Regions from separate parts of the Homo sapiens genome. Here regions 1 and 3 are each linked to region 2. Evidence: promoter capture Hi-C in 16 types of primary human blood cells and fetal thymus (Javierre and others, 2016). All regions are on one chromosome and are shown on one strand. The core of a region is centred on a gene start or on the middle of the fragment in contact, and the rest is flanking DNA. Distances in the headings are between cores, read along the strand shown.

Region 1 (2,750 bases), core at 251-2,750, 88 kb before region 2:
GCAGAAAGTAGATTAGTTGTTGCCAGGGACTAGGAGGAGGGTGGAATGGGAGTGACCGCTAATGAGGATGGGGTTTCTTCTGGGAGTGATGAAATTTTCTGGAATTGGGTAGTGGTGATGGTTGCACACTTTGTGCACTTTGTGAATGTACTAAAAGCCACTGAATTGTATGCTTTAAAATAGTGAATTTTATGGTATGTGAATTCTATTCCAAAAAGTTTGTTGCTTCAAAAATTTGTCCAAGAATCATCTTTGGTTATGGAATACTAATACAAATTCATTAGAAAGAATATGTTAAATAGAGCTTATGTTTTGATGTAAAATAAGTATATTTCCCAAAAGAGGGTGTTAATTTTTAATAACTTTTACTGAAGATCAGGTAGGCCTGAAGGGCTGCCATTTCAAATGTAAAAGTCTTAAGGCATTATTTTAAAAGCCTGCAGCCATTATTATTATTATTATTATTATTATTACTATTATTATTTTAATTTATCTCTTGTATGTGATAGCTGTCATTTGTTAATGAGAGGAAAATGCACTCAAAATTTACCTTTGTATAGTAAAAGGTACAAACTTTCATGGGCCATTCTTGTTTATTTTTTGACTAGAAAATGAGTAAAGATATGACTACAATTTGAAAACATCTTTTTGGAAATACAGGCAGATCATAATAGTGGAATAATGCGAAGGGTTTTAGAGAGAAGATTTTGTCTAAGGGTCAGTAGTTACAATGTCCATTCAGTTAACTTGTACCTTATAAAGAAGCCACTTGGCAGCCAGGGAAGCCTGAAGTTCTGTTGGAGAACTGGACCCCATCCAGCAATCCACCTTTGAAAGACCATGTTCACAGGGAGAAAAAGGCAGTAGCAGCAGCCTCATCCTTTAGAGAATTCTAAATTCTGACGCACGCTTGACCGAATGTTGAGAAAGGGCTTTGAAGGGTTTGCACGTAGTGTGGGGTGTAGTGCTGTAGCTTTTAGTAGCTTAGAGTAGTTGAAAAAAACAGATAGTAAGACAAGTTTTTGAAGGCGCTTTTTGTTCTCCTGTCTTTTGTTTATCTTTTGAACTTGTCATTTAGTCAAATGAGCTGTTTTAATTTTCTCTTTGACTTCTATCATCTTTGCACCTATCACACTATCAAACGTTGTGGGTGTTCAATAAATATTAACTGATGACAAATTCTTATTTTTTTTTTTGGTTGATATTAGTCAGATCCCTGAAAATAAATATAATTTATCTGTTGTTTATTCCTTTTTGCAACTTTAAATATCCAGACACCTCTTATAATTTGTTATTGTCTGGACTGAATGTTATTTTACACTAAATGTTTTGGAAGGAAAAGAACCAAGAATTTAGTTCTGGGGGTGGAATAATTGGAGGTGAAAATTTTAACTAACTCTCTCTGCAGAAGGATATTTAAGACAAAGCTTTTGATGTAGAGAGTAATAAGTTGTTTCTATGCTGTATTTTCTTTTCTTTTTTCTTTTTGTTTCAGGGCTCCCCTCAAGAAAGACTTTTTCTTTACCTTCAACCTCTCTGTGCTATATTTTAGATTAATGTTCATTATTCTAATAAAAGCTTTTCTTATTTGAGTTGATTAATTTGTTTCTTTTTCTTCAAAGAAATAGGAATCAATAAATAATTCCTAAGGGGTTGGATTGGCATTTAGCCTTAAATTATTTTTCTTTCTTTTTCCTGGTAGAATTTCTCTGGCTATAATTAAGTTATTCTTAATTTATTACTGGAGTTTGTTTCTTTTTGGCCACATTCTGCTAGATCTTAGGTTTAGGTAATCTTGGAGATTTTTTTCCTACCTCTCTTTCCTATGCAGAGTTTGTGATAGTAAATGGAATTTTTCAGCATGTTATTGAGTATTCAAAGATGAATAAATCACAGTTCCTGCCACCAAGGAATTCACAGCATAGAGGAGATGACAGACATAACATGCACATTACTGAACTACATTCTGACACATGCCGTGTTGGAGGTGTAAGTGCAATGCCCTTGGACCGTGGATAGGCAGGCAGTCCTCTATTAATACCATGGAGAAGGCCTGGGCGGGTCAGGAAAGCTGTGTAGAGGAGGCAACTTGAGGTGGGACTTGAAGGGTAAGTGGGAATTCGTCAGGTAGGTGAGAAGAAGAGATCCCAGGCAGTGGGAGGAACACACACACAGACACAAAGTCTTGACCACATGTGTCAGGGCAGCATGACATAGGGAAAGAGGATGGCCTTTCAGGTCTTTCTTCTTTTTTTTTTTTTTTTTTTTGAGACGGAGTCTCGCTCTGTCGCCCAGGCCGGACTGCAGTGGCGCAATCTCGGCTCACTGCAAGCTCCGCTTCCCGGGTTCACGCCATTCTCCTGCCTCAGCCTCCCGAGTAGCTGGGACTACAGGCGCCCGCCACCGCGCCCAGCTAATTTTTTGTATTTTTAGTAGAGACGGGGTTTCACCTTGTTAGCCAGCATGGTCTCGATCTCCTGACCTCATGATCCACCCGCCTCGGCCTCCCAAAGTGCTGGGATTACAGGCGTGAGCCACCGCGCCCGGCCAGGTCTTTCAAGCTGGAAACGTGTGGGCTCAAATGAGACTCCATTGCTTGCTATGGACTGTAAGCAAGTTCTTTGTGACTCTGGGCTTAGATTTTTCACCTGTAAGAGTAAAGATAATAGTCTCCAGGTTTCCTAGGTGCATGAATGAGAAAGCACAGTGTTCTTTAGTTCTATGGAAGAAAAAGTACAGGTATAGTCAGG
Region 2 (2,700 bases), core at 117-2,616:
GTCATTAGTGTATTTTAAGGGGAAAAATACTCTGGTTGGTGGTGAACTATGGAGTAGAGGAAGGCAAGAGAAGATAGGGTGGGGATTAAGTGGTAGACATTAAGTTGACTGGGGCAGCTGTCTAGGACTGGGTTGTAGTAATGGGGATGGAGAAGAGTGGATGAATTTAGGAACAGTTGAGGGAAAGATGGTGTGGTGAAGGAAGCCAGGTGAGCAAGCAGGTCTAAGCGGGAAAGCATTGCTTTTCCTACAGGAATTTTCCTGTGCATTCAGGCTGTAAGGATCTCAACTTTTAAAAAAGCCACATTGTTCTCCCAAGTTGTTGGGGAGCTGGTTCACCATTGACTTCTGATCTCTGGAGATATTTTCATAATCATGGAGCTGTCTTTCTTTTCACTCTTTTACTCTCTTTCTAGACAGGCTTCTTGGATACCAAGGGTTGGTGGTGGGTGGGGGGAGGTTCTGGGGATGGTTAAATTTGCCTGGGCAGCCTCAAAGTTCAAAAAGGAGGGACAGGGAAGCTTAGCTAAGAACCAGGAGTTTGACATACTTAATCTCTCATTTCATCCTACTGATGACTTTGTGAGGTATATCTTTTTAATCCTAGATCTACAAAAGAGAAAGCTGAGGCTTGGAGAGGTTCTTCATTTTGTTCAAAGTCATACAACTTTTACGTGGTGTAGCCAGGATGGGAACCAGAGCCTGGCTCTCTGCACTTCCAACACCACTGCTGAATCCGGGTTTGTCTGTTTTCCCTCTCTTCTTTTAACTATTGTCACACAGATTCCATCATAGAACCCATCACGTGGAGGGCCACTATTTCTCTTTCTTTTGTATAGTATGTTTGCTTCCCCTACCCCACAGAGTAAGGTGCTCAGCAAATGTGGCTGTCTGGAGGCAACACCCCCTTCTCACCGCCACACTTGGGGTTGGGGTGCGAGGCAAGGCAGGGCTGGCGAGGTGGATGTTGCAGCTGTCACCACTGCTAGGTGTTGGGAAACGACTCTCCTGCCTGTGCATTGACCCGAAGGCATTTTCCATTTCCTAGGCCCCTCCCGCTTCCCGTCCCTCACCTCTAGCCCCTCGGCTTCAGCTCAGGCCCCTCGGGGAGCATCCCTTGCCGTGAGACTGACAGCCTTTGGGGGCGCAGGGTCCTGTTCTCTGCGCTCTAGCCCATCTGTGCGCAGAGCCTCGTTCCCAGGCGCCTGGAACCCGGCGGGCATTGACGTCAAGCGCCGGCGGAGCGCTGCCTACAGACGGTTGACCCGGGCCCTCCTCCACACCCCCTTCCTTCTTCGCCTCCTCCCTCTTTCCTGCACGGGGGCTCGGGCTCACTATAAAAGGTGGGAGCGCGTGGTGCCCCAGCAACGACGAGTTTCAGAACGATGGAGAGCTCCCGCGTGAGGCTGCTGCCCCTCCTGGGCGCCGCCCTGCTGCTGATGCTACCTCTGTTGGGTACCCGTGCCCAGGAGGACGCCGAGCTCCAGCCCCGAGCCCTGGACATCTACTCTGCCGTGGATGATGCCTCCCACGAGAAGGAGCTGGTCGGTATTCCCCTCGCTCTCGACCCCCTTGAGCTGTCGCCTTGTCTCTTCTCTTGCACGCCTCCCTCCTCCCCCCACCCCCACTCCTATTCCCAGAGTCAGGGCGCGGGGAGCTGAGCGCAACGCCCAGGCACCCACTGCCATCCGAAGAGCGTCTCGAGCTCACGGGCTCCTGGCAGTCTGTTGAGCGAATCCCTCATCCCGGCCCCTCTGAGCAACAGGGACCCCAGCGGCTCAGAGACCCGCGGTCAGTACCTGGGACAGCGTCCGCTAAGTTTCCACCCCTCGACCATTCCCTGTGTCCGCGGAGTCCCACCGCAGAGTGCGTGTGGGTCCGGGGCTCCTTATAACTAGGGCTGGAAGTGCGCACCTGGGCTGGGCTCGCAGCCAAGGCGGCAACTTCAGGCTCCGAAGCGGTGTGTTGCAGATCGAAGCGCTGCAAGAAGTCTTGAAGAAGCTCAAGAGTAAACGTGTTCCCATCTATGAGAAGAAGTATGGCCAAGTCCCCATGGTAAGGTTTGTGGTCACTCCCTTCCCGTGTTTTTCCAAGAGAAAGTACACCGCCTTGAATCGTACACACAGTCTTCTCCGTAGGATGTGGCTAAATAACTTAGGTAATGGGCTTGCAGGATTCTGTGGGCTCCTTCTTCCTTCCCGGGTGAGGAAATGGGAAAGCAGGAACAGGGGTTGTAAGAAAGTGTAAGTCTATTGTTTGTTGCTCAGGAAAAAGGTCTGATTTTTTTCCCCTCTGAGAGGGCAAGAAAAGGAGCCAGGAAATGTGATGCTCCCCTTCCCACGCCCCCCAACCCTCGCCACTTAAAGGTGGAAGAAACTAGGATAAAACTAATAATGTAAGTTTCTTTAAAAAATGTACTCTCACTGAGGTTATAAGCACAAGGCTCCCTGTTTCAGATCTGACTGTACGTAGACCTCTTGTGATGGTGATGGGGTCCAATTGCCCCTTTCAAGAGACAGAAATTGCGTTGACTGTGAGACTTGCCTGTTGGGAACCTGGGTTTGTTCATACTCGATGACCACACATTTTGTTGTTTCAGTGTGACGCCGGTGAGCAGTGTGCAGTGAGGAAAGGGGCAAGGATCGGGAAGCTGTGTGACTGTCCCCGAGGAACCTCCTGCAATTCCTTCCTCCTGAAGTG
Region 3 (2,700 bases), core at 140-2,639, 67 kb before region 2:
TAACATTATCCTGTGTATAAATGAAGAAAAATGGAAAGGGCAGTGGAAACTTGATGAAAGGCAGATCAGCAAGCGGCTGCTTTTAAAATGAATTCTTTTGTTTGTGTCTCTGTTGGAGATTGTTTGAAATTTTGCATTAATTTTTATTAGTTACAACTTTTAACTCCTGTGTAAGCACCAAGTATGAAGATGATGGTTGTGTGTTCCTGAAGTTGCTTAGGTACACTGTTGTCTCATTATGGGAAGGGATGGAATGGAGGGAGCCCTGTCTGCTCTGTGCAGGAATCATCAGGTCTTCCACCTAGATTGTGGAGTGAGGTACTGCCTCCCTGAATGCATCCATCCATGCCTCACATCCCTAGTTGTCTTTTCCAAGCACTCGGAACTCTGGAGACTTACATTGAGGTTTCAGATTCACTTTAGTACCTACTAGTATCAAAGGAAACAGATAGCTTTGCTTTTGTGCGAGTGGTTGGGGTGTGGGTGTGTGGGTGGGGGAGGTGAGATATGAAATTCTACCTGATACTTCAAAGACATGTCTGAAACTCTATGAAGCCTAGCATGGTGATCTCTTATTAAGTAGTTGTTCTTTGATTACTTCAATATACAGATACTTGAATTCATTCATTTTTATACAGGAAAGGAAAGCACAGTGTGTTAATGGTTCTCCCTCAGAATTCGTGACCTAGAAAATGATATTAAGGTATTAGCATATTTACGTAAAAGAAGGTAGAGTTTATTTGAAATAAGTCTTTGTTTCTGCTGTCGAGTTGCTTTTTGAGTTGAAAGTATTTTTCAGGGTTTCAAATTAAGTTCTGAAGATTTTTACATCTGAATTAATTATCACTTGATCCTTGTAATACTGATGGGAAGGCTGTGAAATTCTTAATTAGGGGAAAATATCTCTCAGTTCTCTGGGAACTTGACTGAAAAGGTTATTCAAGATTTGGTTGGTATTTTACCCCTTTAAGCTTAAACATTTAAGCTTAAGTTTTAAATTTTGGCTATTTTAAATGAGAATCTCATACTTTTCCACATTCTTAACTGGAGGTTGCTAAGTGTAATGCAGCCCTTTTGTTGGGTTGTATAATTCACATCTATTATTGTACCTTGCTGTGATACACAGTACCCTGGGCTTTCACCTTACGTGAAATAGCCTCAGGATATTGTCTCTGTTAGGAGAGATGGGATGGGGCACTAACTTGATACTCATGTCTTAGCGTGTATGTTAATGATCACTTGTAATTTATACATCACTATGCACATGTTAGATGTAACATTATTATTCATGACATCTGTTGTTTCTTTTGAATTGAGATGATCTAAACAGGGCCAGTTGTTCACTGAAGCTGACTTACTCATGGCCTCTTTTCCTTTAGTTCTCCAGTGCTGATGAAGCGGCTTTAAAAGAGCCCATCATTAAGAAGTTTGAAGAGGAAGGAAACCCTTACTATTCCAGCGCAAGGTGGGGGCCAGAACATCACTAACTCTCTGATGGGTGCAGATGGCAGTCAGAGGAACAGCTTTACAGAGCTCTGTGTAGTTGAGATGGTCCAGCATTCATAGGAACTGGAAAATAACATTTGGACACACTTAATTTTGTACTGTTGTTTCTTTACAATCTGAATGGCTACTGCTGAAATGCCACCCCTCCTCCCAGCATCCCTGCACTGTGGACTCACCACCAGTGGTCTGATTCTCGCTTCCCTTGTCTTCCCCCTAGTTGAGGTGTCTGGGGCCTGGAGGGGTCCTGCAGCCCAAGGTGGGCCATGTTAGGAGCCGAGAATAAGTTATAAGCTTGGCTGTGTTACTTCAGAAGTTCTAATTTTTGCTTAAAAACCCCTCTCCTTGATCATTTTGTTTTTACCCCATTTTAAACATGAGATTGGTTGAACACTTACTGGCATTTGTTGACAAGTATGCTTGTACGTTTGAAAGGTGATTAGTCACTGCCAGGGTCTGTGTGTCGGCGCCAAATAATTACCTCACAGACCATTGCCGCTGTTGGCTCGGTTTTTTTCTTACACCACTTAATGAGGTAATAAATTATCATGCCTGTCCCAGCTGAAGACCTGCTGGTGCCTGCTTTCACATCTTTCTTCAACAACTTTAGTGTTCTGCATTCCGAAGACTAATCTAAGCTTCATGTCTTCCTTTCATCCCTTGGGCAGATGGAAAAAAGAAAGTAACTCTTTCTGCATCTTGTAAAATTAGCTTATGTTGTAATTTATGCTGGCGAAGGCAAACTGGAGAGGAGAGGGGAGAGAAAAGAAAATCAGGCCAGGCACAGTGGCTCACACTTATAATCCCAGCATTTTGAGAGGCCAGGGCGGGCAGATTGCTTGAGCCCAGGAGTTCGAAACTAGCGGGGCAACATGGTGAGACCCAGTCTCTACAAAAAATATACAAAAATTAGCCAGGCGTGATGGTGTGCACCTGTAGTCCCAGCTACTCAGAAGGCTGAGGCAAGCAGATCAGTTGAACCTGGGAGGTCAAGGCTGCAGTGAGCCGAGATCATGCCACTGTGCTCCAACCTGGGTGACAGAACAAGGCCCTATCTCAAAAAAAAAAAAAAAAAGCAAAAGTTAGAGTCCATTACAATCATTTGAATGGTTCCTTGGTGGATACAAAGACAAAACATACTGATTTTCAAGAACATAATTAGTTTGAGGAGATAAATAATACCATTTGGGTGTGTGT

Evidence for each region. Contacts are between HindIII fragments. The CHiCAGO score rates a contact against its expected background, and 5 or more counts as called.
Region 1: a contact is called between a fragment that was not itself captured here and the fragment with the promoter of CARTPT in region 2, in 1 of 17 cell types (endothelial precursors). The highest score is 6.5, in endothelial precursors.
Region 3: a contact is called between a fragment that was not itself captured here and the fragment with the promoter of CARTPT in region 2, in 1 of 17 cell types (endothelial precursors). The highest score is 6.2, in endothelial precursors.

The regions. Positions count from the first base shown.
Region 1 is chr5:71,629,291-71,632,040 of GRCh38, forward strand. The region is part of intron 7 of MCCC2 (methylcrotonyl-CoA carboxylase subunit 2); the gene reads left to right. Among named protein-coding and RNA genes, the nearest start is that of MCCC2, 43 kb to the left of the region's middle. The HindIII fragment of the contact is 151 bases long and covers 1,426-1,576 here.
Region 2 is chr5:71,717,909-71,720,608 of GRCh38, forward strand. CARTPT (CART prepropeptide) reads left to right here and starts at 1,367. Exons shown (of 3, transcript NM_004291.4): 1 at 1,367-1,544; 2 at 1,972-2,055; 3 at 2,600-2,700. The coding sequence starts at 1,386. RefSeq lists an enhancer at 1,505-2,391. The HindIII fragment of the contact is 2,457 bases long and covers 520-2,700 here.
Region 3 is chr5:71,651,290-71,653,989 of GRCh38, forward strand. MCCC2 (methylcrotonyl-CoA carboxylase subunit 2) reads left to right here. Exons shown (of 17, transcript NM_022132.5): 16 at 1,380-1,465. Among named protein-coding and RNA genes, the nearest start is that of MCCC2, 65 kb to the left of the region's middle. The HindIII fragment of the contact is 812 bases long and covers 984-1,795 here.